2 separate regions of the Homo sapiens genome follow, and region 2 is linked to region 1. The links are contacts of gene promoters, found by promoter capture Hi-C in human tissues and cell types (Jung and others, 2019). All regions are on one chromosome and are shown on one strand. Each heading gives the region's core, a stretch centred on a gene start or on the middle of the fragment in contact. The rest is flanking DNA. Distances are from core to core; before and after follow the strand shown.

Region 1 (4,283 bases), core at 1,004-3,503:
GAGAATACTAAGTAAAGGATGTGGATGAATTTTGGCTTGGAAAGTCTGATCTTGTCCACATAGCTGTAAGTGTGTGTGTGTGTGTGTGTGCGCGCGTGTGTGTGTGTGTGCGTGCGCACACACACATATGTGAAAGAGATAAACAAGTGATTTCTCCCTCCCTCCTTCCCTTCCTTCCTTCCTCCCTCCCTTCCCTCATTCCTTCCTCCCTCCCTCCCTCCGTTCATTCCTTCCTTCCTTCCTTCCTCCCTCCCTACCTCCCTCCCTACCTCCCTCCCTGCCTCCCTCCTTCCTTCTTTCTCTCCCTCCTTTCCTTTACTTCTTCCTCCTCCTGTCTTTATAATTAATGCCATTCAAAAAAGGAACTGAAATGGCTAATGGCATCTTATATTGAGTTTTATGCTTTTCAAAATATGTTCACACTACCTTCTTGAATCCCCACAATAATTCTATCAAGTAGGTATTATCTTCCACATAAAATCAAAAGACTACGAACATTAAAATGACTTGTTAGAAATCACACAGTAACTTAATAGAAGGACTGGGCTGGAACGCAGGGCTCCTAACTCCTAGACCAGTGTTCTTTTAAACATCGCCCTTTGTTATTAGCTAGCTCAATGACAGGATTTTGTAGAAATGATAGGTAAGCTTAAAAGCAGGAAATGTAACTGTGGCAGCAGTCCTAGGAAATGCTACAGTTATCTTCTGAAACAGCCTGCCAAACAGTGTGGAGTCATGGCGGGCTCCCAAGGACAGCGTGATGATTCCTCTTGGGCCTCTTCACCTGGTGTCAGGTTATCTTGGTAATAACTGGGGTGAACTAGGCCCTCCACTGGGCTCTGACATTTTGCCTGCCACTTGTGCACACTGAAAGGCATGACATTTCTTACACCTTTGAAAACATCAGGGAAAATCAAAGAAATTTCTCTCATTCTGAACTTTACCTCTGCTGGGCCAAAAGGTTTGCTGCCAGGGCAGTAATAAAAGCAAGAAAGGGGAGAGTTCCATAAAGAAGAGATAAGTGGAATGGATTTATGGGCTGAAATAACAATCAACCAATGACCACACTAGTTAAATTGTCTTCTTCAATACCTGCACTCTATACTATGCCTTTCTTATGTAAAGAATAAACAAAACCTTTTTTTTTCTGTTTCAAGATAATCTTGATTTTCATTGTGTGTAATTAAGGAGTACAACGTGATATTCTTTGGATTGATGCACAGCAGATACACATATTTTCAAGTCACGTGATAATTTAATACATTCACATAATTTGTGTACTTGGGATATCAATCAACTTACATATTTGTATTTTCTTTGTGCTAGAAACATTCAAATTTTTCTCTTCTAGCTATTTTTAAATGTACAATAGATTATCATAAGCTATAGTCACTTCACTGATCTATAGAACATTAGATGTTATTTCTTCTATCAAACCAAATATTTGTACCCATTAATCAACTTCTCTTTATCCAACTTCTTTCCTCAGCCACCCTTCCCGGCATCTCGTAACCATGAATCTACTCTCTATCTTTATGAGATCCACTGTTTTAGCTTCCGCATACAAGTACAAACGCAAAATGCTCTTTTGATAAACTTATGCATAGTGAAGCAGTGACTACAGTCAAGCAAATTCATATATCTATCATCTCACAGAGTTAATCATCTTTTGTGTGCGTGTAACAAGAGCCCTTAAAATCTACTCTTTTAGCAAAAATCCTGAATACAAATAATTTTATTAATTATGTTCTTTGTTCTGCACACTAGATCTTCTAGACTTATTCATTCTGCATATCTGCTCCTTTGTATAAAGGATAAACAAAAACTTTAAAGTACTTCTCTCTTCTGTCCTTCCAAGCCTACTAAGCACGTGGCATCCTCCCAGATAGAGAACCAACTCATTCACACACATAGTTGGCTGTTGTTTCACTCCGAAAGAGTTGATTTGAAATTATTTGACTGCATTAACTGAACTGATAACCAGCTGATCATTGCTACAGATAATGGGATTTCTTCAAGGCATAGAGAAAGTCGTAACAATCCGATCTAGAATTATGATTTTTTTGACTATTCATATTGTAGGCCCCAGCCATCTCCAGTTGTGTATTCATTCACAACCCATGAGCTGGCACCGGGGGATTGGCAGACCCTTGTTCCTGGAACTTCTCACTGGTTATCACGCCTAATGTTGGAACACTGTGGTACAGTGAACTCTGATTCCTGGAATTGTTACCAGGCGACCACGGCGTCATCAAATGACCTGGCAATTCCGTCTACTGATGTCTCGAACATGTTTCAGACTAAGCTACGAAATGAAACTTGGGAAGACTTGCCAAAAATGTCCTGCACAACTGAGATCCAAGCAGCATTCATTCTCTCTTCCTTTGTGACCTTCTTCAGTGGACTCATCATCCTGTTGATCTTCAGGCTGATCTGGAGATCTGTTAAAAAATGGCAAATCATCAAGGGAACAGGAATTATCTTGGTCAGTTTCCTTGTTAGGGATCCCTCTGTGTGAAGTCAGAGATGAGTTTGGGGTAGTTTTGTGTTTAGTAAAAGATCTAAGCTTCATTCAGTTTTTCAAGCTAACAGAGTCAGCTTCTATAGCCTGGTGCCTCAGAAAGGGTGGTAAGCCAGACCTCAGGCCACATTCTGAGGCCTGAAGAGACAGGGCCAAGCCTCTTCTCTCTCCCATCACTGGAAAAAGCAATGTCTTGTATGGATAATGATTAATGTTAGCTCTGGAAACAGAGGTCACTGTTCTGAAAAAAAGTTCATAAACATTATGTCCATGCCTCTATCTCGAATTTTAACAAGACAATTGTGCTAGGTCATAGAAAGGAGGTGAAAGGGAACAAGACATCAACATCAACCTTGCTTTCATAAATTGTTCATGCATAATGCATATGTACTGACGTGTACATTGCCTTTTGTATACCATATGAAGACAACACATTGAGTTGCACATACACAGAGAAGCCCATGCATACATGCCTGTGCCATCCAGGCATAGATGCAAGGACATTTCTTATACCCAAACAAGCTTAGCAGGAGTTGATGTTGTTGAATAACAGCTGGCAAATGATGATGATGAGAATAAATGATGTATTATACAGATAAGGCATTGCTTAAGAGCTTGAAATAAAGCTCTCAAATGCTGTGTAATGGATGTTCTATTACCAGAGGTCAAAGGTGAAGAGTTTTACTATACCCTGTGTAGTTTGTTTCCAATTTTGCTTCCCAAACTTTCTTTCTCTGATAGATTATAGCAATTTCCATAACACAACACATTTCACCTGTGCATCATAATATTGAAAATTTGCTTAAAACATTTCTTTTAGTGCTAAAACCTACATAAAATATAATTCATAAATTGATAAGTTTTTAAAGTTATTGGTAATATGGAATTTTGTTTTCCATATTTGAAAATTATCCAATACTGAAGCTTATAGATTTTGTTCCTAAACAAGTTTATTCTATTGATTATTTCTACATTATGGATTTTAAGCTGTGGCACAATAATTGGAGAAAGAATTCTGGGATACTGACATATGGGTAAATAGCTATGATGGATCTGCCTCCTTGTTTCTACCTTGTTTTGTTGTTGTTAATGCACAACTGAATTTGTAGGATTTTTAAATCTTCTTAGTCTTCTGCTCCAGGCAATGTTCTTCTTCTCCATTATGTTCATTTTGTGTGATTACAAAAATGTGACAGTACATTTGTCAATTTCCTATATTTTTCATTTCTTACTTTGGGTGTAATTTATGTCTACACTTCGATCCAGGTATACCCTTTAATTACAAATATTTAGCAAATGTTACAAAATGTTAAGAAGTGAGCCTGAGCAACCAGAATGCTGTACCATTCTGCTTTTGAATCTTGAGGAAAGAGTTTGATCAAGTTGAGTTACTTTTCAATGATTTGTTTTATTACATCAAATTAAGAGTGACCTGTTTTTCTCTAAGCCTTTGGAGAAGTTGGACAAATGCAAAAAAAAAAAAAAATCAGAAATCTAGGTGTACTGTGAAGAGTTATTTTAAAAATTATTTGGAGAGTTACAATTTCTCTCCTTAAATGTGCATTTAAAACATGTATTACATCTATAAATATGAGTTTATTATATCTTAGGACCAATTTGTTTTTCCACAGAAGGTAGCTCCAATTTTATGATGGAATTCAAATGAGTATTCTATATTAATGTCATACCTAGGATTTTTTAAAATTAATTCTCAGACAACATTTAGAAACCGACATGAGTCATGTTTATTAGAGGGCAAATC
Region 2 (4,283 bases), core at 884-3,383, 46 kb after region 1:
AACCTATGGTCAATTTTTTAAATATCACTACCATTCTTTCTTTCTCCTATGTTTTATTACCTCTATATTCACATCTAAAATGTGCATATTACTTTAGACATGTTTAACTTTATAGAAGGAATATCATACCAATGTAATCTTTGGGGCTTTATTCAGTTTATATTATGTTAGTAAGATGCTTTCATATTTTTGAATGTTGCTGTAGTTAATTGGTTGTTCTTGTTAGTGATATTCATTTCCCTCAGTTCCACTCTTCTTTTGGTGTGATTAGTGTTATTTCTATATTTTGCAATTGGAAATAGTTTTGTTGTTAACATGCTTGTATATGGCTCCTGGTGGACACATGAAATAGTGTTTCTGTGTGCATGTTTATGTGCATTTGTGCTTGTACGTGTGTGTGCTTAATAGTGTCAAGAATGTGAATGTTCATTTTTAGGCCATTAGTCATTTTTTCCAAGTCATTGCACCATTTGCAAGCCTATCAGGAATGTGTAAGAGACTTCACACATATATATACATACACATTCTTTCCAACAACTGGTATGGTTATATGTTTTAAGCTTTGCAATGAAATCAATGTCAAATGGAACCTTCTTGTGGTTTTGATTTCTATGCCCTTTAGCTCTACAGATGTGGACCTTCACCATGTTTACTAGGCACACATCTTTTCTCTTTCCGTGACATACTCATCCATGTGTTTTGCCTATTTATTTTTTTACTTAACTATTTTGTGTGATTTTTGTTATTTAATTTTAGGGATGTGTAATATATTATTTGCAATAATTCTTCATCAGTTGTGGGAACTGCAATTTCTTCTTTCAGTTTATAATTTGTCTTATTGCTGAATATTACATATCTTCTGATGCTTAAAAGTTTTTAATGTTATTATAGTCAAATATTGAATATTTTCTATTATATTAAAGCACTTATTGTTTTTTGTTTAGAAACTTTTTCCCTATTCCACTGTTTAAAATATGTTGAACTACATTTCCTACCAATAATTTTAAATTTTTTTCGTCATTTATGTCTCTAATTCATTTAGAATTTTTTGTAGAGTAACGATGGGGTTTATAGAGTGACAATTTGTATAATTTTCTATTACTGCATTAATACTACAGTCTTTTAATTACTAAATCTTTATAACTAGTTCTATCTATCCCTAGAGCAAGTCTTTTTACCTTTTATTTTTTTTTATAGTTGACAAGCTTTACTTGGCCCTTTATATTTTATATAAATTTTAAAATTATTTTATCATGTATATTATTTTATTATGAAAAACTGCAGAAATTTAATGCGAATCTAATTGAAAGTTTAGATGCAGCATTGACTGCTTTATGCTACAAACTCTTTCCAACTTTTACTATGCTGGGTTTATTCATTTATTTAGTTCTCCTTTAGTACCCCTGAATAATGTGGTATAATTTCCCAGGTAGAGAGCTTACTAACTTTTATTTCTAGGTACTTGGTATTTTCTGATATTAGTAAAAGTAATATCTTCCAGTAGGGTTTACTAGTTGTTTGTTCTTAGTACAGGAAAAACACAATTAAATTTTGTATATTAGTCTTATATCTAACCACATAAATTTTATTTTTTTCTGTAGTAATATTAGGGGTTTCCATATAAATAATTATATTTATATTATTTATATTTGTGTAGTTATAATTATTTACATTAAAACAATTTATCTTTATTTTATCTTTGTAATAAAATAAAATAAATCTTTATTAATCCAGATTTGTAAATCTTTATAAATAAAATAAATATTTATAATAAAACATAAATTGTACACATAAGGATTAGAAAGAAGGAAATAAACTATTTGTCTGAAATAGTATAATTATTGCTGAGACATCAAATATAACGTTGAAAAAGAGCAGTGATGATATCTTTTCTTTACTTCTCATTTTTAAAAGCACCTTTAATATTTTTTCATTAAAGATATCTTTTTTATTTTAAAGATATTTGTTGGGTTAAAAATATTATCTTCTATTTCTAATATACCATGAGTTGTATTTCTTAACTCTGAAGAAATATTTCTATCAATTTGTCTCTGCGTCTGAGGTGATTATATAAGTGTTGTTTTTTAATTTGTTAATGTGAATCTCACGGATATTTTTGGTAATATGATTATTTTGTCTTTTTTAGTATTGGTTAGGAAGTATTTCCTATTTTTAATGTCTTTAAAAGGCTTTGTAGAAAAATGAGATTATGGGTTGCTTTAAAGTATGGTAGAAGTTAAACGCGAAACCATGTAGAACTAGTGGTTTCCTACATTTTATTTGAGGGGTGTGTGTGTGTGTTTGGATGTGTAGGTTTGTGTTTGTGTGTGTGTGTGTTGTGTTTTGAGAGATTTTTTTCTTTTTTTTAATTTATTTATTATTATTATACTTTAAGTTTTAGGGTACATGTGCACAATGTGCAGGTTAGTTGCATATGTATACATGTGCCATGCTGGTGCGCTGCACCCACTAACTCGTCATCTAGCATTAGGTATATCTCCCGATGCTATCCCTCCCCCCTCCCCCCACCCCACAACAGTCCCCAGAGTGTGATGTTCCCCTTCCTGTGTCCATGTGTTCTCATTGTTCAATTCCCACCTATGAGTGAGAATATGCAGTATTTGGTTTTTTGTTCTTGCGATAGTTTACTGAGAATGATGATTTCCAATTTCATCCATGTCCCTACAAGGGACATGAACTCATCATTTTTTATGGCTGCATGGTATTCCATGGTGTATATGTGCCACATTTTCTTAATCCAGTCTGTCATTGTTGGACATTTGGGTTGGTTCCAAGTCTTTGCTATTGTGAATAATGCCGCAATAAACATACGTGTGCATGTGTCTTTATAGCAGCATGATTTATAGTCCTTTGGGTATATACCCAGTAATGGGATGGTTGGGTCAAGTGGTATTTCTAGTTCTAGATCCCTGAGGAATCGCCACACTGACTTCCACAATGGTTGAACTAGTTTACAGTCCCACCAACAGTGTAAAAGTGTTCCTATTTCTCCACATCCTCTCCAGCACCTGTTGTTTCCTGACTTTTTAATGATTGCCATTCTAACTGCTGTGAAATGGTATCTCATTGTGGTTTGGATTTGCATTTCTCTGATGGCCAGTGATGGTGAGCATTTTTTCATGTGTTTTTTGGCTGCATAAATGTCTTCTTTTGAGAAGTGTCTGTTCATGTCCTTTGCCCACTTTTTGATGGGGTTGTTTGTTTTTTTCTTGTAAATTTGTTTGAGTTCATTGTAGATTCTGGATATTAGCCCTTTGTCAGATGAGTAGGTTGTGAAAATTTTCTCCCATTTTGTAGGTTGCCTGTTCACTCTGATGGTAGTTTCTTTTGCTGTGCAGAAGCTCTTTAGTTTAATTAGATCCCATTTGTCAATTTTGGCTTTTGTTGCCATTGCTTTTGGTGTTTTAGACATGAAGTCCTTGCCCATGCCTGTGTCCTGAATGGTAATGCCTAGGTTTTCTTCTAGGGTTTTTATGGTTTTAGGTCTAACGTTTAAGTCTTTAATCCGTCTTGAATTGATTTTTTGTATAATGTGTGAGGAAGGGATCCAGTTTCAGCTTTCTACATATGGCTAGCCAGTTTTCCCAGCACCATTTATTAAATAGGGAATCCTTTTTCCATTGCTTGTTTTTCTCAGGTTTGTCAAAGATCAGATAGTTGCAGATATGCAGCGTTATTTCTGAGGGCTCTGTTCTGTTCCATTGATCTATATCTCTGTTTTGGTACCAGTACCATGCTGTTTTGGTTACTGTAGCCTTGTAGTATAGTTTGAAGTCAGGTAGTGTGATGCCTCCAGCTTTGTTCTTTTGGCTCATGATTGACTTCGTGAGTGGGCTCTTTTTTGGTTCCATATGAACTTTAAAGTAGTTTTTTCCAATTCTGTGAAGAAAGTCATTGGTAGCTTGATGGGGATGGCATTGAATCTGTAAATTACCTTGGTCAATATGGCCATTTTCACGATATTGATTCTTCCTACCCATGAGCATGAAACCACAGCTTCAATTTCTTTAACAGTTTAGGCTTTTTATTTTTTCTAGAGTTAGTTCTGATAAGATACACTTTTAAGTAATTTGTTCATTTTGGCTAAGTTTTCAGAGCTGTTGACATTCAGTTATTTGCTGTCTACTTTTGTTATTTTTTAATCTCTACTTTGACTATATGTATTGTATCTTCTTTGTTCAATATTTGCATCATTTTTGTCTTTTATTTTTTCTCCATTAACTTTACAAAACTTTTGCCTATTATGCTAGGTTATTTTTCAA

Evidence for each region. The method cuts DNA at HindIII sites, captures the fragments that hold promoters and counts their contacts. A contact is called where the count stands out against the background at its distance.
Region 2: a fragment that was not itself captured here is called in contact with the fragment with the promoter of KCNU1 in region 1 in 1 of the 25 tissues and cell types used here (liver).

What each region holds. Positions count from the first base shown.
Region 1 is chr8:36,782,121-36,786,403 of GRCh38, forward strand. KCNU1 (potassium calcium-activated channel subfamily U member 1) reads left to right here and starts at 2,254. Exons shown (of 27, transcript NM_001031836.3): 1 at 2,254-2,485. The coding sequence starts at 2,291. The HindIII fragment of the contact is 3,588 bases long and covers 1-2,804 here.
Region 2 is chr8:36,828,389-36,832,671 of GRCh38, forward strand. The region is part of intron 10 of KCNU1 (potassium calcium-activated channel subfamily U member 1); the gene reads left to right. Among named protein-coding and RNA genes, the nearest start is that of KCNU1, 46 kb to the left of the region's middle. The HindIII fragment of the contact is 6,698 bases long and covers 1-4,283 here.